Regions from separate parts of the Homo sapiens genome. Here region 2 is linked to region 1. The links are contacts of gene promoters, found by promoter capture Hi-C in blood cells and fetal thymus (Javierre and others, 2016). All regions are on one chromosome and are shown on one strand. The core of a region is centred on a gene start or on the middle of the fragment in contact, and the rest is flanking DNA. Distances in the headings are between cores, read along the strand shown. Region 1 holds the start of RBCK1 (RANBP2-type and C3HC4-type zinc finger containing 1). Region 2 overlaps CSNK2A1 (casein kinase 2 alpha 1).

Region 1 (6,370 bases), core at 3,684-6,183:
AACAAAAGTTGGAGAACTTGTATTTCCTGATTTCAAATACTATGAAGCTATAGTAATTAGTGTGGTACTGGCGTAAGGGCAGATATATATTATAGTTCAATGGTATAGAAATGAGAGTCCAGAAATAAGCACTCACATTTATGGTCAATTAATTTCCAAAAAGGGTTAAGATGATTAAACAGAGGAAAACAGCCTTAACAAATAGTGCCGGCACAACTCAATATCCACGTGCAAAAGAATGAAGCTGGACCCTTACCTCACACCTTATATAAAAATTAAATCAAAATGGACCAAAGACCTAAATGTAAGAGCTAAAACCATAAAATCTTTAGAAGAAAATATAGAGGTAAATCTTCATGACCTTGGATGAGGCAACGATTTCTTAGATATGACACCAAAAGCACAAACAACAAAATAAAACATAGACTAACTGGACATCATCAAAATTTAAAACTTTTGTGGTTCAAAGGATACCATCAACAAAGTGAGAAGACAATCCACAGAATGAGAGAAAATTTTTGCAAATCATGTAGCTGATAAGCTAAAATGAATAAAGTACTTCTAGCTAAAATGAATAAAGTACTCCTACAACTCAATATAAAAACATAAACCCAGCCGGGTGCAGTGGCTCATGCCTGTAATCCCAACACTTTGGAAAGGCCAAGGTGGGTGGATCACCTGAGGTCAGGAGTTCAAGACCAGCCTGGCCAACATGGTAAGACCCGTCTCTACTAAAAATACAAAAATTAGCCAGTGTAGTGGTGGGCACCTGTAATCCAGCTACTCAGGAGGCTGGGGCAGGAGAATCACTTGAACCTGGGAGGCGGAGGTTGCAGTGAGCCGAGATTGCACCATTGCACTCCTGCTTGGGTGACAGAGCGAGACTCCATCTCAAAAAAAAAAAAAGATAAACCCAATTTTAAAATGGGCAAAAGACCTGAATAGGCAAACCTCCAAAGAAAATATGTGCATGAAAAGATGCTTAACATCATTTGTCATCAAATGGTTAGGAAATTGCAAATCAAAACCACAGTGAGATACCTCTTCAAACTTACTAGGATGGCTATAATCAAAAAGATAAACAACAACAAGTATTAGAGATGATGTGGAGAAACTAGAACCCTCATATATGCTGGTGGGAATGTAAAATGGTGCAGCCACTTTGGAAAACTGTCTGGCATTTCTTCAAAAAGTAACATAGAGTTACTGTATGACCCAGCAATTCCACTGCTAGTGTGTATCCAAGAGAAATGAAAACGTGTCCACACAAAAAGTTGGACACAAATGTTCACGGCAGCATTGTTTATAATAGCCAAAAAATAGAAACACCCAAATGTCCATCAACTGATTTAATGAGTAAAGATAATGAGATATGTCTATACAATAGATTATTATTTGGCAATAAAAAGGAATAAAGTTCTGGTTGGGCATGGTGGCTCACACCTGTAATCCCAGCACTTTGAGAGGCTGAGGTGGGAAGACTGCTTAAGCCAGAAGTTCAAGACCAGCCCAGACAACAAAGCAAGACCTTATCTCTACAGACTTTCTAAAAATTAGCCAGGTGTGGCTGGGTGTGGTGGCTCACGCCTGTAGTCCCAGCACATTGGGAGGCATAGGCGGGCGGATCACGAGGTCAGGAGATGGAGACCATCCTGGTTAACACGGCGAAACCCCGTCTCTACTAAAAATACAAAAAATTAGCTGGGCGTGGTGGCGGGCGCCTGTAGTCCCAGCTACTCGGGAAGCTGAGGCAGGAGAATGGCGTGAACCTGGGAGGTGGAGCTTGCAGTGAGCTGAGATCGCGCCACTGCACTCCAGCCTGGGGGACAGAGTGAGACTCCCATCTCAAAGAAAAAAAAAATTAGCCGGGTGTGGTGGTACATGCCAGTAGTCCCAGCTACCTGGGAGGCCAAGGCAGGAGGACTGCTTGAATCCAGGAAGTTGAGGCTGTAGTGAGCGATGATGGCACCACTGCACTTCAACCTAGACAAGAGACCCCATGTCAAAAAAAAAAAGGGGAATGAAGTTGTTAGACATGCTACAACATGGATGAATCTCGAAAACGATCCTAAGTGAAAGAAGCCAGATACAAAAGGCCACATATTGCATGATTCAACTTATATGGAATTTCCAGAAGGTAGATCCCTAGAGATAAAAAGTAGATTAGTGGTTGCCTAAGGTTGGGGAGTTAGGGAAAAGGTAGAGAGATGAGGACTGGCTGCTAATGAGTACCAGGTTTCTTTACAGGATGATGAAAATGTTCTAAAATTGATTGTGGCAATGGTTGCACAACCTTGAATATACTAAAAGCCATTGAACTGTATACTTTAAATGGTCGAACTGTAAGGATAAATAAATAAATAAAACTGTTTTAAGAAAAACCAAATGGGACCCACCAAGAGAACCAAAAATCAGAAACCATAAAACTATTGCCTTACTATCCAGTAATGAAAAAGCAGTCAAAAAATAACGATAGACACTAATGTTTATTATTGAGTGCATAACACGCCAGGCATTGTGCAAAGTGTTTCAGCATTGAGTTTAAGTCTCCTGGAGCACAGACCGACAGTATCCATTCTCTTCCCTTCCCTTACCAAGCGAACCCCTGAATTCTAGCTGAATATCTTGGCTATACAGTCTCCCCTCAAGCTGAACTGTAGCTGTGGGAATCAGTTCTGGTCCACAGGAATTAACGGAAGAAGTGTGTACAATTTTTGAGCTATGCTCTTTAGAAGAGTGTGGAGGGGTGTCTTTCTTCCCTTCCTCCTGTGATGTGATGGCTGGATGGAGCTGGAATGGCCATTTTGCACCATGAGGAATCTGGGAATGAATGGCAGAATGGTGAGAGAAACAATATGAGCCTCTGAGGACTGTCGGGAGCAGAACCTCCCTATCTGGACTCCCTGCCATCAAATTTGTTTACGTCACTGTTCCGTTTTCTTCTGTTGTATAAGGCCTAACATCCTAATACAGTACACCTCCTAACAACCCTATGAGATAGCTACTGTTACGGTCTGATTTTTAAAATGAGGACACACTGAGAGGTGAAGTGACCTGCTCTGTATTTCACAGTTGATTAATGACATAACTAGGGTTAGAAGCCAGGCCTCCTGAAGCCAGAACGTGCCATTAGGAAGAACTGTTCTACAGGCAAGAATATCCTGTCCTGCTGTCCCTTGGGTTCAGGCCAGCCATGCACTCCTCACCTGATGTCCTGCGTTGGGGAGACCTCAGGCTTCAGTTGCACACTCAGGGGCACCCGTTGCTCTGCCAGCCAGATGGCACACTTCATTGCCACCTGTTCATCCCCGCCCGCCACTGCTCGGGTGAGGCTCAGGGCCATTTCCTCTGCTGAAAGCCAGTACAGCAGGAGCCAGTTAGCACAGGGTTTATTTTCAGGAGCTGAGAGTAATGGGGTAGGAAAGGAGGCGATCCTTTGTGTGTGCTGCTTTCTCTGTCTTCCTGGTGAACTCCTACGTATCCTTCAGCACCCAGACTAAAAGTCCCTTTCTCCGGGAGGGGTTCTCTAATATTCCCCACTCCTCCTCACACTAGGCTCATTTGGTTGTTTGTCCTTCCCATTCCCAGGGTCCCTCATATTTCTATTCATTTATCCAACAAGCAGTTATTGAGCTTCTACTGTGTGCCACCCACTGTCCCAGGAACTGGAATCCCACAGAGATTTATAAACAGGGCCCCTCTCCTTATGGATCTCCCTGCCCAGTGGGGAGACAATGAACAAGTTTAACAAGAAAAAAAAAAAAAGTCAGATTGCGATCCTTGCTGGCAGGGAAATAAACAGGTTAAGGAGACCAGGGGAGGCCTCTGGGAGGGGGTAACACTGAAGCTAAGACCTGAAGGAGGAGAAGCTGCACGTGTCAAGCTCCAGTGGGGAAGAGTGGTCCAGGTGGAAGGAAGAGTAAGGGCCTTGGCCAAAAAATGGTTGGATGAGAACCGAAGGAAGCCAGTGGGGCTCCAGTAGAGTGAGCATGGCGGGGTGACTGAGGACAGATATCCTGTGGGCCACCCAGGGCCTCTGGGTTTTGTTTGGAGAACACAGAGGGGCATGGGAGGGTTTCCAGCAAGGCAGTGACTGACTTCCGTTCTACAACCCTAGGTGCAGGGGACAAGAGAAGAGGCAAGTACCCCTGCTTCTCAGGTCAACTGACGTCTGTCTCCCACCAGCCCAGGAGGTCTCCAAGTTCAATGCCCTGTGTCCTCTGCGAGTCCCCTAGCCCCATCTCAGCACAGAGCCAGCCCAAGGAGTTCTCAGGGCCCCAAGATGGCTCTGGAAGCCAGCAGGTACCAAAGGAGGAAACTGATGGGGAGGAGGGTAGAGGGAGGGCAGGCTAAAGCCCCCTCTCCAAGGCCCTTCTGGCCAGGGGCAAGGCCAGGTCCTGCGGGGCCCACTTCCCACCGGAAGTTCCCCAGCCACCTCCAGCCTGTGCCCACCTTTCTTGGTCTTCTCGTCCATCTGGCGTGGCTGTGCCCATCCCCCTGGGGGGGACCGTGCCTCCTGGGAAATGCTACCTCCGGGTCGCCTGGGAGAGGCGGGAGACCAGGAGCAACTCAGCCAGGCCGTGTGGCCTCCGGCGCGGCCCAAGCCCTGTGTGTGCCTCGCTGTCCCCGCGGCAGTCGGGAAGCATCACACTGCCCGGTGACCAGGCCGGGATCCTGCGTGGGGCGGTGAGAGGGCAGCGGGCGCCGAGACAGGTCCGCACTGGGCGCAGGAGGAAACGGGACCAGCCGAGGTGGGAAGAAGCGGGGAAAGGACGCCCGGACACCACCCAGCCGGGGCGTTCCAAGTCCCGGAGGACCCCCACTTGCGGGAGCGCCCCTGGCGTCCCGGGTTTCAAGGCAAAGCCCTCTCTCCTCCCGGGAGGCCCCAGTTCTTCGCAAGGGGAGCGGCTTCGGCGGAAGAGAAAGTGAAAGTGGCGGCCCCGGAAGTGGGGCGGGACTGGGAGGGGGGGCCGGAAAAATTGTCGCCTCATCCGGGACCTCCACTGCCCGGCTACCCGGCGGCGGCGGACGCCGAGTGCGGGGTCCCAGCGGTCCCGGCGCTCCTGTTTGGGGCGACCCCACCCCGTCCTCCGGGGCTGATCGCGGGTCCCCGGACTCCCGCCCGGGTCACCCTGCGGGCCGCATCGCAGAGCCGCGGGAAGGAGCTGGGCCGCAGGCGGGGTGGGCGGGGCCGGGGCGGGGCCGGGGGCGGGGCCGGGGGGGCCGGGGGCTGGGGGCGGGGCCGGGGTGGGCCGGGGGCCGGGGCCGGGGCCGGGGGCGGGGCCGGGGGCAGGAGCAGGAGCCTGAGCAGGAGTCGGCGCCGGAGCCGGGGCTGGAGGGCGGCGGGATCCACAGCGTCGAGCCGCTGGGGACGGGTTAGGAGCGCGCCCTGCGAGCCCGGCGCCTGCTCACCCAAGCCTCAGGCATACCTCGGGGCAGGCCCGGTCCTTGGCCCCGTTTGCACATGAATAAACGAAGGCTCTGTTTGTTGATGACCTGTCCAAGGCCACTCAGCCGAGGTTTGAATCCAGGCCTGGCAGGCTCAGGAACCCGCCCTTACCCAGATCCGACGCTGCCTCTCAGCGGTCACCGTCTGTCTTTTCGTTGAGCTATTGGTGAAGTTTGCATTCGTCTGCCTCATGCGCCGCTTTAATTTTTCTCCCGTTCCTCGTCCCATCGATCAGCAGATCCTGCGGGCTCCACTTGCAGAATCTCATCCCTCACCTCCTCCGGCCCCATCCCGCTCCAGCTCCATCAGTGCTCCATCATCTCAGGGGTCTTGAACCAGCCTCCTCCTGGGCCTCCTTGCTTCTCTTTTTGCCCCCTACCGTCCATTTCCACCTAGCTGCCGGAGAGTCCTGTTAAAATGTAAATCAAACCCATGCCACTCCCCGACCCAAGTACTCCCATCTCACTTAAAGCAAAATCCGAGATCTGTCCCAGGGCTCGCAAATTGCCTCCCGATCTCTGTCTTCGTAGCTGACTGCCCTGCCCCTGCCTCATTCCACTCAAGTCCCATTGACCTGCTGGGTCCTGGAGTAAGTCAGACACACTCCCGCCCTAAGGCCTTTGCACCTGCCATAACCCAAACGTCTGCATGGCTCCCTCCTTCCCTTTATTTTGGTCTTTACCCAAAAATCTTCCCTAGTTACTCCATCTGAAATTTCACAGACACACGTATCCAGCATTTCACATCCGCTTTCCTGGCTTCATTTTTTCTTCTCAGCATCTATTACTGTCTAACGGAGCATGTTTTACTTATTTATGTTATTCTGGGTCTGTTTTCCTCTCCTAGAGGGCAGGGACTTTGGTTTGTTTTGCTCACTGCTGTGTTCCTGGTGTCTAGAACAGTTCCAAACACATAATGGAG
Region 2 (6,113 bases), core at 1,377-3,876, 72 kb before region 1:
GCTTCAGTGGGGTTATCCTAGTGGCTCTTGTGGAAGTGTGTCTTAGTTACATCAAGATGTTGAAAATCTACCCAAAATGCAGACAGATACTAAAAACTTCTGTTCAGTAAGAATCATGTCTTACTGATCTAACCCTAAATCCAACTCATTTATACTTTTATTTTTAGTTCAGTTTAAAATGTTGATACCTTCCCTCCCAGGCTCCTTACCTTGGTCTTTTCCCTGTTCATCTCCCAACATGCTGTGCTCCATAGCTGGTAGGAGAGGGAAGGCAAAATCTTTCTTAGTTTTCTTTGTCTTGGCCATTTTGAATTCATTTAGTTACTGGGCATAACTTACTGCTTTTTACAAAAGAAACAAACATTGTCTGTACAGGTTTCATGCTAGAGCTAATGGGAGATGTGGCCACACTGACTTCCATTTTAAGCTTTCTACCTTCTTTTCCTCCGACCGTCCCCTTCCCTCACATGCCATCCAGTGAGAAGACCTGCTCCTCAGTCTTGTAAATGTATCTTGAGAGGTAGGAGCAGAGCCACTATCTCCATTGAAGCTGAAATGGTAGACCTGTAATTGTGGGAAAACTATAAACTCTCTTGTTACAGCCCCGCCACCCCTTGCTGTGTGTATATATATAATACTTTGTCCTTCATATGTGAAAGATCCAGTGTTGGAATTCTTTGGTGTAAATAAACGTTTGGTTTTATTTATCAAGGTTAGATTTAAGTTCCCTGTGTAAAGGTCTTGCTGGGTGGGTGTCTCATGTTCACATCTGAGGGGCCTGCAGCCCTGTACCGTGGAGGCTTCCCAAGGCCCCCATTTTATACACCCCTCGTTCGACCCATGGTACCGGGCAGAGCAGAGAGGCCTTAAAAAAAAAGCACCACAAGCCAAAGCGTCTCTGGGGATTAAGGATCCTTTGCCATAAAACTCATTTTGTGTCTCAGCAGTGCAGGGATTGGGGATGGAAAAAGTCGCCAGTTTTTGTGTGTTTGTGTGTGTGTGTAAAGTGGACTTTCCACTGTAATCCAACCACCTAAGTTTATCAGGTGCTTCACTGAGGAAGCCTAGTTTTTTAAGCACAATAGCAAAACCATCAGCTCTGTATTTTCTCCTGTTATTTCATTACAGTAGCTGCTTGTGGGAACTAGGAAAAATTCTTCCAACATATTTTAAGGCCTAAAATCTTAGTTCCCCATTCTCCTACCTTATAGATTCACAGGCCTTTCTCGCCTAGGCATCATAGATAAACGTAATTGTTTGGGGAGTTGAATTTAATGAACTTATCTAACTTTGTAACCCATCTTGGCTTTAGTAACTTTATCAAGGTGGTGGCTTTAGTGAATATAATGGTAAACTTTAGAGGACGCTAAAGCCTCCTTTTATAGCGCTTCTCAACGGTAGGGAGAGCTGAAGGGAAAACATTCTGACTGTGTGGCAGGGTGATTTTCTTCCTTATGACCACTTACAGTGGATATTTATTGTACTTGACCCTTTTATGCCCTAGAATGCTGTGAGGGTTACCATGTTGAATTTGTGCAGAAGCTAAAAGCACCAGATGTGCCAGAGATGCAATTTGTGATTATGTTTGCACTGGATTGTGATTTGAACAGGACACTTATAACTAATGAGTTCTTTCTTTTGAGGTGGGGAGAGGGTTGTAAATCAAGACTTCATACCCTATCCTTGTAGCTCGGAAATTGAGGTGTAGCTTAGGCTGATGCGGAGAGCTGCAGACAGCTGGACCTCCTTACACCCATCAGACCTTGGAATAAACCGAAGGTGAATGCAGAGGACTCTGAGGTGCCACCCAAGAGCCTTTTAAAATAAATAGAAGTTTTTAAAAATGCTACTTAAGAGTCACTGCAGAAGCATGGAGAGAGAGAAAAAAAAAAAAGACCCAATTGGGTGGGGGGTGGGGGGGAGGCAAGGGTTTACAGAGTAACAACTTACGTGTTGTTGTAAATTACCTCATCTGTATACCTTGTATTGGGACACTATTTCTCAGCACTACCTGTGTCTGCATTGCTTAGATGGCAGGAAATGGAATGGCCAACATGAAAGGTTATGTTGGCAATTACTCTGAAAGATTTTTTAAAGTATTTTTAAACTTTGTTTGAAGTGGTCCCTCCCCTCTTCCTCTGCTTTTTTTTAAGTTTGAAGCCAGAAGGCCCTCCCCACCTTGCTTTATTGGTTGTAATTGTATTGTAATTGGTATGACTAAACCATAACTGTGCTGGGAAGAAGTTGTGCCATGAAGGTCTTTAATTTTTTTTAATAAAAACATTTAAATAAATGAAATGTCCCTGCAGCCTGAGCAATATGCTTCTCCAACCGACACCGTGTGTGATAGATGGCTCCGTTTTCACGTTTTGAATTCTGTTTCTTGTACTTGAAATGCCTGTCCAGCTTACATAAGATAGATTAAATTGTTAGAGTGGGACTGTCAGAGGAATATATCTTGTAAAGTAGATCCTCAGGGTATGGCTAATTACTATAGTCCTAAAGTAGCAGAGAAAATTAGAGATTGGTTGACAGATTTGGGAATTTTAATTTCTTCTTAGTTTTTAACTTTCATCTTTGCTTCACCTTTTGACAAGTATGGTTATAATTAGAATTGACCATTTAAGCATCTCTTGAAAAACCTGATTTTGTCCCACCAGCAAATTCTCTCCCAAGACTGGAATTGGGTTTGCATAGTAGAGAGCCTGTCTTCCCAGGGCCTTTTCCTAGTTAAAGAAACACTTAACTAAAAAGGCTGTGTGGTAAGGTCATGCTCAGTTCCTTCCTCAAAAAATGAGTCTAAAATTGGTTTATCCTGAATCCGACTTCCCCCACTGTCATCACTTACCCTTGCCCTTCTTTTTCCTCAGAACACCTGAACTTTTGTTGTATTATTTTGTATCTCCCCACTTGCATGTAAACTCCCTGGTGACCTTGCATGTCTTATGCAATCCTCATTAAAACCTTTTGTTTTTTTTTTTAAGTGGGTTCGTTTTCCCTCAGGATCGAAGAGTATTGAATGGAATGGCACGAGGAAAATATTTAACACCCTACTTGGCTTGTAATAATAGGTGCTTAATAAATTGTAGTTCCACTCTCCACTCCATTGCCCCCTTTCTCTCCCTACACACACACACCCACCCACCCACACACACACACACACACACACAAAGTAAATGGAAGTATTGTTGCATAAAGAGCATCTCAAAATCCTAAGAACTTTGCCCTTGAGTTTGCAGCTATAATTACAAGCCACAGGCCAGACTGAACTAACATGACAAGTAACTTTATTTAATGAGACCCTGATAAATAGGTATCTGAAGACTAAGGAATGATCCTGGCCAATTTAGTAGACTTAGATGCTGCAGTCTCCCTGCTTTTCCCCTGCTGTATTACCTGTGTGTAATATAGGTTGAATATCCCCTATCCAAAATGGTTGGGACCAGAAGTGTTTTGAATTTTTTTGGATTTTTGGAATATTTGCGGAATACATACCAGTTCAATATTCCTAATCTGAAATTTGAAATATTCCAAATAGCATTTACTTTAGGCATCATGTTGATGCTTAAAAAATTTCAGATTTTTGAGGATTTTGTATTTTCAAATTAGAAATGCTCAACGTGTAATACGAAATTCAGACTATTCTCCAAGTAAAACATATGTAGATGGTGTCACAAGATGTTCTGGACTCAATCCTATGTAAATAAGTACTTCCTAGACTTTATAGCTCTCCTTTGATTCTGTGCTAAATTTAACCATTAGAGAAGCAATGTAATGTTACTGCAAGTGGTCTACCTCTAACAGAGTTCTGTCTGGCAGTGTGATTTTTTTGATCAGTTAACCTCTCTGAATCTTTTCTTCACAGGTGATTTAAATTGTTATTGTAAAACATTTTAGGCATGTACCAAATTATAAAGAAAGCTGTAACACATCCATAATCCTACCACCCAAGTTGAATTTCCATTGCCAATACAGACCAAGCCCCCTTTTTGCCCTTTTTTGGTGATACCCTCTTCTTCCTCCCTTCCCCAGAGGTCCCAATATTTCCTATCTGTTAAATTGGGGTATAAGTACTGATTTCATAGAGCGGTTGTTCAGATTCTATGACAGATGCCTGGTATATGGTAGAGTTACACCAAATGTTGGTTTCTCTTCTAAATTGTACAGTTGTGCAGACTATGTACAGTAAAAGGATGCTACATTATAGGGAGGCCATAGATGTTTGCATTTGGAAAATTTCTGACTCTTTTCCAGCAGGTGGCAGTAAAGTGTCTTTACTAGAAGAAAAAATATCCAAGCATTAAACATGACAGGTTTTCAACGGGTACAAGTCAAGTTTCTGATTGAATGAAGGCCAGCATTGCCTTGTTCCCACTCCCTCTATGGAAAGCCAGATATTTTGCACTGTAGCAAATTACAAACTGGATTTGTCTCCCTGTCGCTCTACTCACTAGAAGTTTTTTGTTTGTTTTGTTTTTTGATACGGGTCTTGCTCTGTTACCCAGGCTAGAGTGCAGTAGCGCCATCACAGCTCACTGCAGCCTCAACCTCCCAGGCTCAGGTGATCCTCCCAACTCAGCCTTCCAGGGACTACAGGCACGAGCCATCATGCTTGGCTAATTTTTTTTTTTTTTTTTTTGGTAGAGATGAAGTTTTGCCGTGTTGCCCAGGCTGGTCTTGAACTCCTGAGCTCAACAGTCTACCCGCCTTGGCCTCCCAAAGTGCTGAGATTAGAGGCATGAGCCACCACACCTGGCCCACTAGGGATTCTTATTGGCCTCAATGTGAGAAGCCCTTCCCCAGGTACCTCCAGATGGAAGCTTACAGGATGGTCAGTCCATTTCTTAGAGAAGTTCCTGGGGGGATTGAGTATTTCTGAGTCAGCTTCACTCTTGCATCATCTGCTTTGACAGTTTTCTTGGCTCCTGTAATGAGAAAAAGGGAAAAAAATGCTGCAGCAGCTGGGGCTGGCTTCCTGATCCCACCCTGGGAATCAGAGTCTCAGCTATTGATAAACATTTCTAGCCATACCTAGAAGGAGAGGACCTTGCTTCTGTGTGTTGAACAGTTCCAAGAACTCCATGGTGAACTTCCTATGAAGAACCCTCCATAACCCTCAACCCTTCAAACCTGACGGTATACCTCATTTTGTTCTCCCGTCTCTGGCATTCCTCACCCACCCACGCTGACTGGTCTTTCCAAAGTTCATTTCTGTAATATAGGATGTCTTTGGTTTCAACAAACATTTGTAAGTGCCCCTGAGCCTGGTCTTTGCTATACACTGGGGATTGAGAGGTGAGACACAAGCCCATGGGGAAATGTATGTTAATTAGAAAAGTGAAAAAATTGTGTATATGGGATAATTCCAACTGTTTTAAAAAAAAAATCCTAGGAAAAATGCAAATGCCTATTTCAGAGAAAGAAATGGAAATCCCAAGGTGGCAAAAAGGAAGGCAGAATTCATCCTGAATGTAACTGGGGTTTTTTTGTTTTGTTTTGTTTTGTTTGTTTGTTTTGTTTTTGAGACAGGCATGGGATTACATGCACCACCACGCCCAGCTAATTTTGTATTTTTAGTAGAGACGGGGTTTCTCCATGTTGGTCAGGCTGGTCTCGAACTCCCGACCTCAGGTGATCCGCCCGCCCAAGCCTCCCAAAGTGGTGGGATTACAGGCGTGAGCCACTGCGCCCAGCCTAAGTGGGTATTAAAGTCAGTGCTTCCAAGACACTGGGTCTGGGTATAGGTGGGCCTCAGGCTATGGACTAGGGTTTGAATGCCCCCAGGGAGATAGGACACAGACTCCCGGGCTTTCTAAGATAGAAACTGAAACAATGCTGTGGCACTTGGAAAGGCTACAGGGGCAGGATTGAGGTGGTGGGGGTGGTAAAAACTAGAAGAATACTAGCTGTTGTTGCCTCTGGGTGATGAGGTTAAGATACCACGGAAGGCCCACACACCTGTGGTTGGAACACTTTGGGAGCCGGGAGTCCCAGACCAGCCTGGACAACATGGCGAAAACCCACCTCTACAAAAAATAGATTAGCTGAGTGTGGTGGTGTGCGCCTGTGTCCTAGCTACTGGGGAGGCCAAAGGACGAGAATTAATTGCCTGA

Evidence for each region. Contacts are between HindIII fragments. The CHiCAGO score rates a contact against its expected background, and 5 or more counts as called.
Region 2: a contact is called between a fragment that was not itself captured here and the fragment with the promoter of RBCK1 in region 1, in 1 of 17 cell types (activated CD4 T cells). The highest score is 5.7, in activated CD4 T cells.

What each region holds. Positions count from the first base shown.
Region 1 is chr20:406,862-413,231 of GRCh38, reverse strand. RBCK1 (RANBP2-type and C3HC4-type zinc finger containing 1) reads right to left here and starts at 4,933. Exons shown (of 12, transcript NM_031229.4): 1 at 4,453-4,933; 2 at 3,207-3,351. The coding sequence starts at 4,474. RefSeq lists enhancers at 3,956-4,025, 4,036-4,135, 4,196-4,295, 3,705-4,345, 4,346-4,395 and 1 more and a silencer at 4,966-5,235. The HindIII fragment of the contact is 13,745 bases long and covers 1-6,370 here.
Region 2 is chr20:477,292-483,404 of GRCh38, reverse strand. CSNK2A1 (casein kinase 2 alpha 1) reads left to right here. Exons shown (of 14, transcript NM_177559.3): 14 at 1-6,113. Among named protein-coding and RNA genes, the nearest start is that of TBC1D20, 18 kb to the right of the region's middle. The HindIII fragment of the contact is 4,393 bases long and covers 430-4,822 here.